Regions from separate parts of the Homo sapiens genome. Here region 2 is linked to region 1. Evidence: promoter capture Hi-C in human tissues and cell types (Jung and others, 2019). All regions are on one chromosome and are shown on one strand. The core of a region is centred on a gene start or on the middle of the fragment in contact, and the rest is flanking DNA. Distances in the headings are between cores, read along the strand shown.

Region 1 (4,130 bases), core at 1,119-3,618:
CCAACATGGTTAAAGCCTGTCTCTACTAAAAAATACAAAAATTAGCCGAGCGTGGTGGCACGCACCTGTAGGCCCAGCTACTCGGGAAGCTGAGGCAGGAGAATTGCTTGAACCTGGGAGGTGGAGGTTGCAGTGAGCCGAAATCGCACCACTGTACTCCAACCTGGGCGACAGAGCAAGACTCCATCTCAAAAAAAAAAAAAAAAAATTATCCGGGCGTGGTGGCGGGTGCCTGTAATCCCAGCTACTCGGGAGGCTGAGAAAGGAGAATCGCTTGAATACAAGATGGTGGAGGTTGCAGTGAGCCGAGAGCATACCACTCCAGCCTCCAGCCTGGGTAACAGAGTAAGACTGTCTCAAAAAAAACCAAAAATTCATATATATAGACAGACATATAAATACATATATGGATATTAGAGAGAGAGAGGCAGACAGGGAGAGGGAGAGAGAGAAAGTGTGAGAGAGCTTTTTTCTCTGTATCTTTCATGATTATAGGAATATGCTGTGCTCATCAAGATATACCCAATTGTGGCTGTGCACCGTGGCTCACACCTGTAATCCTTGCACTTTGGGGGGCCAAGGAGGGCGGATCACCTGAGGTCAGGAGTTCCAGACCAGCCTAGCCAACATGATGGAATCCCATCTCCAGAAAAACAAAAATACAAAAATTAGCCGGGCATGATGGCGGGTGCCTGTAATCGCAGCTACTTGGGAGGCTGAGGTGGGAGAATAGCTTGAACACAGGAAGCAGAGGTTGCAGTGAGCCGAGATCACGCCAATGCACTCCAGCTTGGGTGTCTCTTATTAACTGTTTATTTATTATTTATTTTGAGATGGAGTCTGGCTCTGTCGCCCAGGCTGGAGGGCAGTGGCGTGATCTCGGCTCACTGCAAGCTGCTGCTCCTGGGTTCACACGGTTCTCCGGCCTCAGCCTCTCAAGTAGCTGGGACTACAGGCGCCTGCCACCACACCCAGCTATTTTTTTTTTTTGTATTTTTAGTAGAGACGGGGTTTTACCGTGTTAGCCAGGATGGTCTCGATGTCCTGACCTCGTGATCCACCCGCCTCTGCCTCCCAAAGTGCTGGGATTACAGGCGTGAGCCACCTTGCCCAGCCTTTCTTATTAACTCTTTTTTTTTTGAGATGCAGTCTCGCTCTGTCGCCCAGGCTAGAGTGCAGTGGTGCGATCTCGGCTCACTGCAAGCTCCATCTACCGGGTTCACGCCATTCTCCTGCCTCAGCCTCCTGAGTAGCTGGGACTACAGGCGCCCGCCACCACGCCCGGCTAATTCTTATTAACTTTTTTTTTAGACGGGATCTCGCACTGTCGCCTGGGCTGGAGTGCAATGGCGCGATCTCGGCTCACTGCAACTTCCGCCTCCCGGGTTCAAGCGATTCTCCTGCCTCAGCCTCCCAAGTAGCTGGAATTACAGGCGCGCCACCACGCCCGGCTAATTTTTTGTATTTTTAGGGTTTTCACCATTGTTGGTCAGGCTGCTGGTCTCGAACTCCTGACCTTCTGATCTGCCCACCTCAGCCTCCCAAAGTGCTGGGATTACAGGCGTGAGCCACCACGCCCGGCCCTCCAGGGTCTTAATACAAAACCGGGTGGCTGGTGGCGATGGTACAGTAAGAAAAGCTCCAGAGGGGAAAAGCGAATATGTGAATTATCTAATCTCAGCCACTGATCCAACTCCATAGTCTGTGACTTTTGGAGTCCTCCAATACTTCCAAGCTGCATGTTCACATTTAAAGTTTCTGGGGGAAAACGAACAGGGTAGAGTTTTAGGAAATACCAGATGTTGCTGCGATTTTCTACAGTGAAGGGGCGTGGAAGGGGACAATGGGAGTAGAAGCGGGTTTCTGAAGTTGTGTTTGTACTTGATTTTAAGCGAGCTGTGAACAACTCGTGTCCAAATAAGTGGCTGAGAGGTGGTCCTAAGTAAGCACAAGTTTAGTAGTAGAGTACTCGTAACACAGAACTGGCTGAAACCCCGCCCTCTTGTCTACGGGCGTTCTTTCAGGGCGACTTTGTCAGTACCCCAAACTGTCCCCGCATGAGGTCACTCTGCACGGTCACGTGCTCGAGCCCGCGGGAGCGCCACATCGCCAGCCGCACCCCTCCACCCCCAACCTGCCCACGTGACCCGGCCTAGTTTCTCCAGGCCCGTCCCTACGTCTCACTCGGGAAGCCCCGCCCCACGCTGAGCGCTCCGCCTGCGACCCTCCGCCACTTACCCACCCCGGCTCAAGCACGACCCGTGGATCCACGTGCTTTTTCTTGTCCAATGGGAGCCGGCTCCCGGGCGCGAAGGGGCGGGGAGGAAAGGAACGACTGTGCTACGTTGCCAGAAGGGGCGGGACCTGCAACGTCCGACAGAACGAGGGGACGTAACGGAGGCAGGTTGGAGCCGCTGCCGTCGCCATGACCCGTGAGCACCGAGCCCCCTTCTCCTTGCCCTTTTCTTTCCGTTCACCCTAAACACCACCGGCGAGGCGCCGGCTTTGACCTTCCGTAGCTTCCCTAGCAAGGCGTTTCTCTGGGCGCGCTCTGTGGCCACCCTCACACTCGGTGCCCGGAAATCGAGCCCTTTGCCCACGGCTACTTCACGGGACCACCCTCCCGGGTTAGGCATAGGCCCTCCCGGATCTTCCGCGGTGTAAGGAGAAGGCCAGCGCCCCTGTGATAGGCCCAGAGCCCCCACTCCACAAGCCAGCCCATCCCCCACGGAGACCCAAACCGTCCACACACACCTTGCCAGCTGTTTGGGCCCCACGCCGCCCCAAAACACGCCTCCAGCTGGCCCCTTGGGACCTCCCTTCTCTAGTCCGTATTTTGACCTGGCCCGTGGCAGATTCGCCACTCCCCCCTACCCCAAGCAGCCTGGGCCTCGATGGGCCGTTGTCGGGGCCCGGAGATTGAAGTGGTGTTGGATCCTGCTGCTGGCCGCGCTGGGGTAGAAGGGTCGCCGGTGTGTGGGCAGAGCGGCCCCCGCGTCTCACCTTTAATTTTCTTTCCTTAGGCGGTAACCAGCGTGAGCTCGCCCGCCAGAAGAATATGAAAAAGCAGAGCGACTCGGTTAAGGGAAAGCGCCGAGATGACGGGCTTTCTGCTGCCGCCCGCAAGCAGAGGTAGCCCCAGGGAGGGGAGGGAAAGGGACGGTGGAGACCTGGGTTAGACCAAGGGTTATAGAAGGAAAGAGAGCTACCTCAGGGCTTGAATGTGGACTAGTCGTGAGGAGCAGAGTGCATTGCTTCCTCTAGGGTTTTATTTCCTCCCCACCCTCCAAATTGTTAGCTCACAGCCTTACAGGAAAGGACGGGGGCGGGCGCCTGCCCTCAGTCTGATTTCTGAGCGTCCCTGGGTCTGACCTTAAGGGCAAGGGCAGGGAGCTTCACATTTCAAATACAGTTGTGGTTACGGCAGCCCAGTACTTTTGGCCCTCCTTGCTGTTCGGTTCTCCTCCCTTCTCCCAACCTCCTCACTGGTGTTGCTGGGTGTGGTCCTCAATACAGAATAGAGACCCTTGGGCCTGTGTCACCAGACTTCTGACCCCTTGGGCAACAGCCAGATGGAGACTGGTCGCCTTTTGAGCCTCAGCTCTCTTCCTCTTGTTCTCCTAGGGTGGGAGTACAGCAGCCAAACGCTGAACTTAGTCCCATCCACTTCCATCTTATCCTTTGTGCCCTTCATCCCCCTGCATCTTGTCCTTTTTGCCCTCTGGTACCTCCCAGTGCCCCATCATCTCTACCCCCAGGGACTCGGAGATCATGCAGCAGAAGCAGAAAAAGGCAAACGAGAAGAAGGAGGAACCCAAGTAGCTTTGTGGCTTCGTGTCCAACCCTCTTGCCCTTCGCCTGTGTGCCTGGAGCCAGTCCCACCACGCTCGCGTTTCCTCCTGTAGTGCTCACAGGTCCCAGCACCGATGGCATTCCCTTTGCCCTGAGTCTGCAGCGGGTCCCTTTTGTGCTTCCTTCCCCTCAGGTAGCCTCTCTCCCCCTGGGCCACTCCCGGGGGTGAGGGGGTTACCCCTTCCCAGTGTTTTTTATTCCTGTGGGGCTCACCCCAAAGTATTAAAAGTAGCTTTGTAATTCCTTGAGCGCCTGGTTTGACTGGGGACTTGGGGGGA
Region 2 (4,130 bases), core at 592-3,091, 1.2 Mb after region 1:
TGCTGGGAACTTTAATACAGGGCTTTACAAACTGTCCACAATGAAGGGCCAATTTTACTTTTTCCAGTCGGCCATGGACTGATATGTTTGCATCAATATATTTGAATGCTGTGTCACGTCAAAATGCTATAAACAGCCAGGCACGGTGGCTCATGCCTGTAACCCCAGCACTTTGGGAGGCCAAGGCGGGCAGATCACTTGAGGCCAGGAGTTTGAGACCAGCCTGGCCAACATGGCAAAAATCCTGTCTCTACTAAAAATACAAAAATTAACTGGGTGTGGTGGTGCACAACCTGTAATCCCAGCTACTCAGGAGGCTGAGGCACGAGAATCACTTGAATGGGGAGGCAGAGGTTGCAGTGAGCCAAGATCATGCCACTGCACTGCAGCGTGGGTGACAGAACAAGACTCTATCTCAAAACAAAAACAAACAAAAAAATTATATAAACATTTCTAAATGCTCCTCTCAATTTCTGTACATTGCATTACAAATCAGTTCATCAATCACCCTCTGAGTGCACTTTATCTCCCTTCTTCCTGAAAGCTGGCTCTTCCTTCAGGCAGGAGCATCTGAACAGGGAGAAGTATAGGAACAAAACAGGCTCCATTTCCAGGAAACAACACCATGGAGGGGATGTAGTCAGATTTTTGTTATGATCAGCTATATGAGGAGACAATAAATTAAAGGGAAAAATAATAATTTCAGAATGATGGGTTAATGTTGTTTAATTATAAAGGGCAGAAAAATTAATATATTGGCATCAAGTTTAAACATTACTCGGAGGTCCATGAAGATATTTCTTGAGTTTTTGTCCATTGAGGCAACGTATTATACCTTAGGTCAAAAGAATTGCTTTGACCTAAGCATTTTTAAATACTCTTATTTATTTTTAAAAATAAGATAAATCTATATCTGTAATACAGCACATTCAAAATGTCTATACTTTACTGTTAAGATTTTGGGGTGAGAAGCGGATGGTATAATGAGAGGGCATGAACATGGGCAGCTCAGATGGTCCTGTGCATCATGTCTGTTTCTCTGAGCCAGCTGCTTCTATGTGATCAGATTAAAGGGGCTGATAGTCATGAAGCAGGAGCTGGATTAAACCAGATTACCCTGATAGTGATGAGATGCAGGCTACTTAACCCTTACAAGTCAGAGACACTTGAGAGTGAAAAGAGAATGTGAAAATCCTCCAGAAAAAGAGAAATTGGGTAGCAGTAAGTAGCCCAAAGAACCATCTTTCTTGCTTTTATCTTAATTATGTTTTAACAACAAAACAAAACCCAAACTGGACATACCATTTCAAATTCAAAACAGGAAATTAAATCCAGTAAACACTCCCACCTCCACCAACAGCTCTGGAAAGGCAATGCCTTTGTCTGTGAAAGACCATGAGGCACAAAGGTAGCATTTTCCTCTCAAAGTGATGCAAGCTTTTTCTTGGCCCCTTCGCCAGACCTGTGGAGTACTGGGCCTACCGTGCTCAACCCCTTGTGGGAGGGAGCACATGAATGAGTGAGTGCGGGATCCAGCCAGCTGCTCCAGGCACTGACACAGGAGCAAGCTCCTTGAGGGGAATGCAGCAGCACCCAGGTAAGGGTGTCCATGACCCTGAAGCCCCAGAGGGGCTGTTACAGTGCTCCTTTATTTCCACCGTCTGCAGATGGTGGCATGTTAGCAGCTCAGTTGGCCCCTTGCCTCGCTGCACGGGGCATGCCACTGGTGAGGGGCAAAGGGCCAGTTTGACAGCCTTTTCTGGGTACCTGTACTTGGTGGGCCCTGAGCTCTTGTCCAGTGTCCAAGAAGAATGAGGTCACGCAGATGATTGAAGGATGGTGAAGGTGGAGAATTTTACTGAGCAATGAAAATGGCTTTCAGCAGAGAAGGGAACTGGAGAGGGGATGGGAAGGGCAGGTCATCTTCCCAGAAGTCAGGTTGTCTCCTCCCCGAAGTCAGGTCATTTCCCCCTCTACCAACTGAGTCTGGGATCTTTATAGGCACAGGATAGGAAGTGCGTATTGATGGGTTTGTGAGTATGCAAAAAAGGTTAACGTGAAGACACCATGCAAAGGTGGGCAAAACAGTGTAGAAAACTACTTAGGAAAGGTTAGGTATATGTAAAATAGGTGAAGGGTGGGGATCAATCAGAGGAAAGCGTCCAAACAGGAAGACAAGTTCTTGATCCAGTCCCAGGATTTAACTTGTAGCTTGGCTTTCCGGCTTTAAACTGTCTTCTACTTGGAGGTGGAATTTCACTGGGTACCCACCCCTATCTGCCTAGGCATTTGGCCACCTCCTTTTGCTATCAAAAGCAGGAGAAGAAGCAAGCAATATCACAAATAGGATTTTACCATTCCATAAAAGCAGCCCTATTCTAAGGGGAGACCCTAGAATTATGGATGTAGGGGAAATTTCTCTTTAAAACTGCACAACAGAAATTAAGAAGGAGGAGAAATATGTACACGTAGATACAATATTAGCATCTAACTTAGAAGTCTTTTAGTGTGGCTGTTGAAGCTGGCAGTTTTCCCCAAATCAGGTTTGCACTAAGAACATTAATTACCAGGGAAAATACATTCAAATTTTGCAAAGTAATATTCAACTCAACAATTTTAAAAAACACAGAAATATTCAATTACATAGACCCGAACACAGTGAGCACTTATCAAGATCACGAACAGACTAGAGCATCTGACAAAGCTCAGAGACTTAGAATTTTTGCTCCATATATAGAACCATTTAATAAGATCATGTATGGTTATGTTCATACACTTTGAATTAGGAGGAAATTTTAATATATTTATCCCTGATGAAAATTAAATAGTCCTTAACTATCCTGTGTGGATTCAATGCTAGGTGCTGGAGAAGTGCAAAGGAGAGAAAGGAGTCACCTCTCCAGCCTGGTGAGGACAGGGGAGGCTTCTTGCAGGAGGTGATGCCTGAGCACCAGTCCCAGTAACCAACTGCCTGTTGAACAGCTGTCATGTCAGGTTCCAGCCTACTTGTGCTGACTCCGACCAGGAGCCCAGAGGTTTCACAATAACTCAATGGCCAATTAAATGTGAGGCTTTCACATACCAACGATCATGCAAATATATTCAACACACACAGGCAGTGATAGGGGAGGTCGGGGCAGCCATGGTGGTTCACACCTGTAATCTCAGCACTTTGGGAAGCTGAGGTGGGAGGATCACTTGAGGCCAGGAGTTTGAGACCAGCCTGGGAAAGACCTTGTCTCTACAAAAAATGTAAAAAGTAGCCGGGTGTGATAGCACACTCCTGTAGTCACAGCTACTCAGCAGGCTGAAGTAGGAGGATCGTTTGAGCCCAGGAGTTCGAGATTGTGGTGAGCTATTAATGTGCCAGCCTGGGCTACAGAATGAGAACCCATCTCTTAAAACAACAACAACGACAAAAAAAAAAAAACAACAGGGAATGAACCGTGGCAAGTAGCTCCAGAGACCAGCACGCTGACTGATGAACAGATTTGGATTTCCCTTGAAACAACAAAGTGGGAGGAGTGTTGTTGCTGTTCTTCTCCCAGCAGAACTTATGGCAGCCTCTGTTCGTGAGGAGGCCTCAGAGTTCTCACGGGCAGAGCTTCTACAGGCTCTCGGCCATGGTCACTTTCTTTGCTGTTTTTATACCCTGCATAGGAATGTCCATTGTCATAACTTAGCCATCTTTTGGCTTCACTTTCTTATTTTATTTTATAAAATTAATTTTGGTGACAGGGTTTCACCATGTTGCCCAGGCTGGTCTGGAACTTCTGAGTTTAAGCAATCCACCTGCCTCGGCCTCCCAAAGTGCTGGGATCACCGGTGTGAGCCATCCCGCCTGGCCTTGGCTTCCCTTTCTTATCAAGTTTTGGGGTTGCCTGGCCACAGCAGGTGTTGTCATCTCAGTCCTACATACATATGCTTATCACTTTGAGCAGTCAGCAGTTTCACTGTGAGCTGAGTCACTTATCATTGTGACTCCATTTTGTTGGTGGAAACAACCCAGATGTTATTCAAGTAATGAACATTTTTTAAATGTGGCATATAGATATATAGTGGAATATTATTCAGCCCTGAAAAAAGTTTTGTCACATGCTGTGTTAAAAATAAACCTTGAGAATATTATG

The links. Contacts are between HindIII fragments. The study calls those that stand out against the background at their distance.
Region 2: a contact is called between a fragment that was not itself captured here and the fragment with the promoter of SERF2 in region 1, in 1 of the 25 tissues and cell types used here (lymphoblastoid cells).

Annotation. Positions count from the first base shown.
Region 1 is chr15:43,789,952-43,794,081 of GRCh38, forward strand. SERF2 (small EDRK-rich factor 2) reads left to right here and starts at 2,369. Exons shown (of 3, transcript NM_001018108.4): 1 at 2,369-2,432; 2 at 3,024-3,132; 3 at 3,759-4,130. The coding sequence starts at 2,426. The coding sequence ends at 3,822. It overlaps SERF2-C15ORF63 (SERF2-C15orf63 readthrough), which reads left to right and starts at 2,025. Exons shown (of 6, transcript NR_037673.1): 1 at 2,025-2,432; 2 at 3,024-3,132. MIR1282 (microRNA 1282) reads right to left here and starts at 3,808; the gene lies at 3,708-3,808. RefSeq lists enhancers at 1,864-3,063, 2,852-3,181, 3,517-4,130 and a silencer at 2,052-2,131. The HindIII fragment of the contact is 8,897 bases long and covers 1-4,130 here.
Region 2 is chr15:45,027,910-45,032,039 of GRCh38, forward strand. All of the region lies in intron 1 of SORD (sorbitol dehydrogenase), which reads left to right. Among named protein-coding and RNA genes, the nearest start is that of SORD, 6.8 kb to the left of the region's middle. RefSeq lists an enhancer at 3,362-3,656. The HindIII fragment of the contact is 5,495 bases long and covers 1-4,130 here.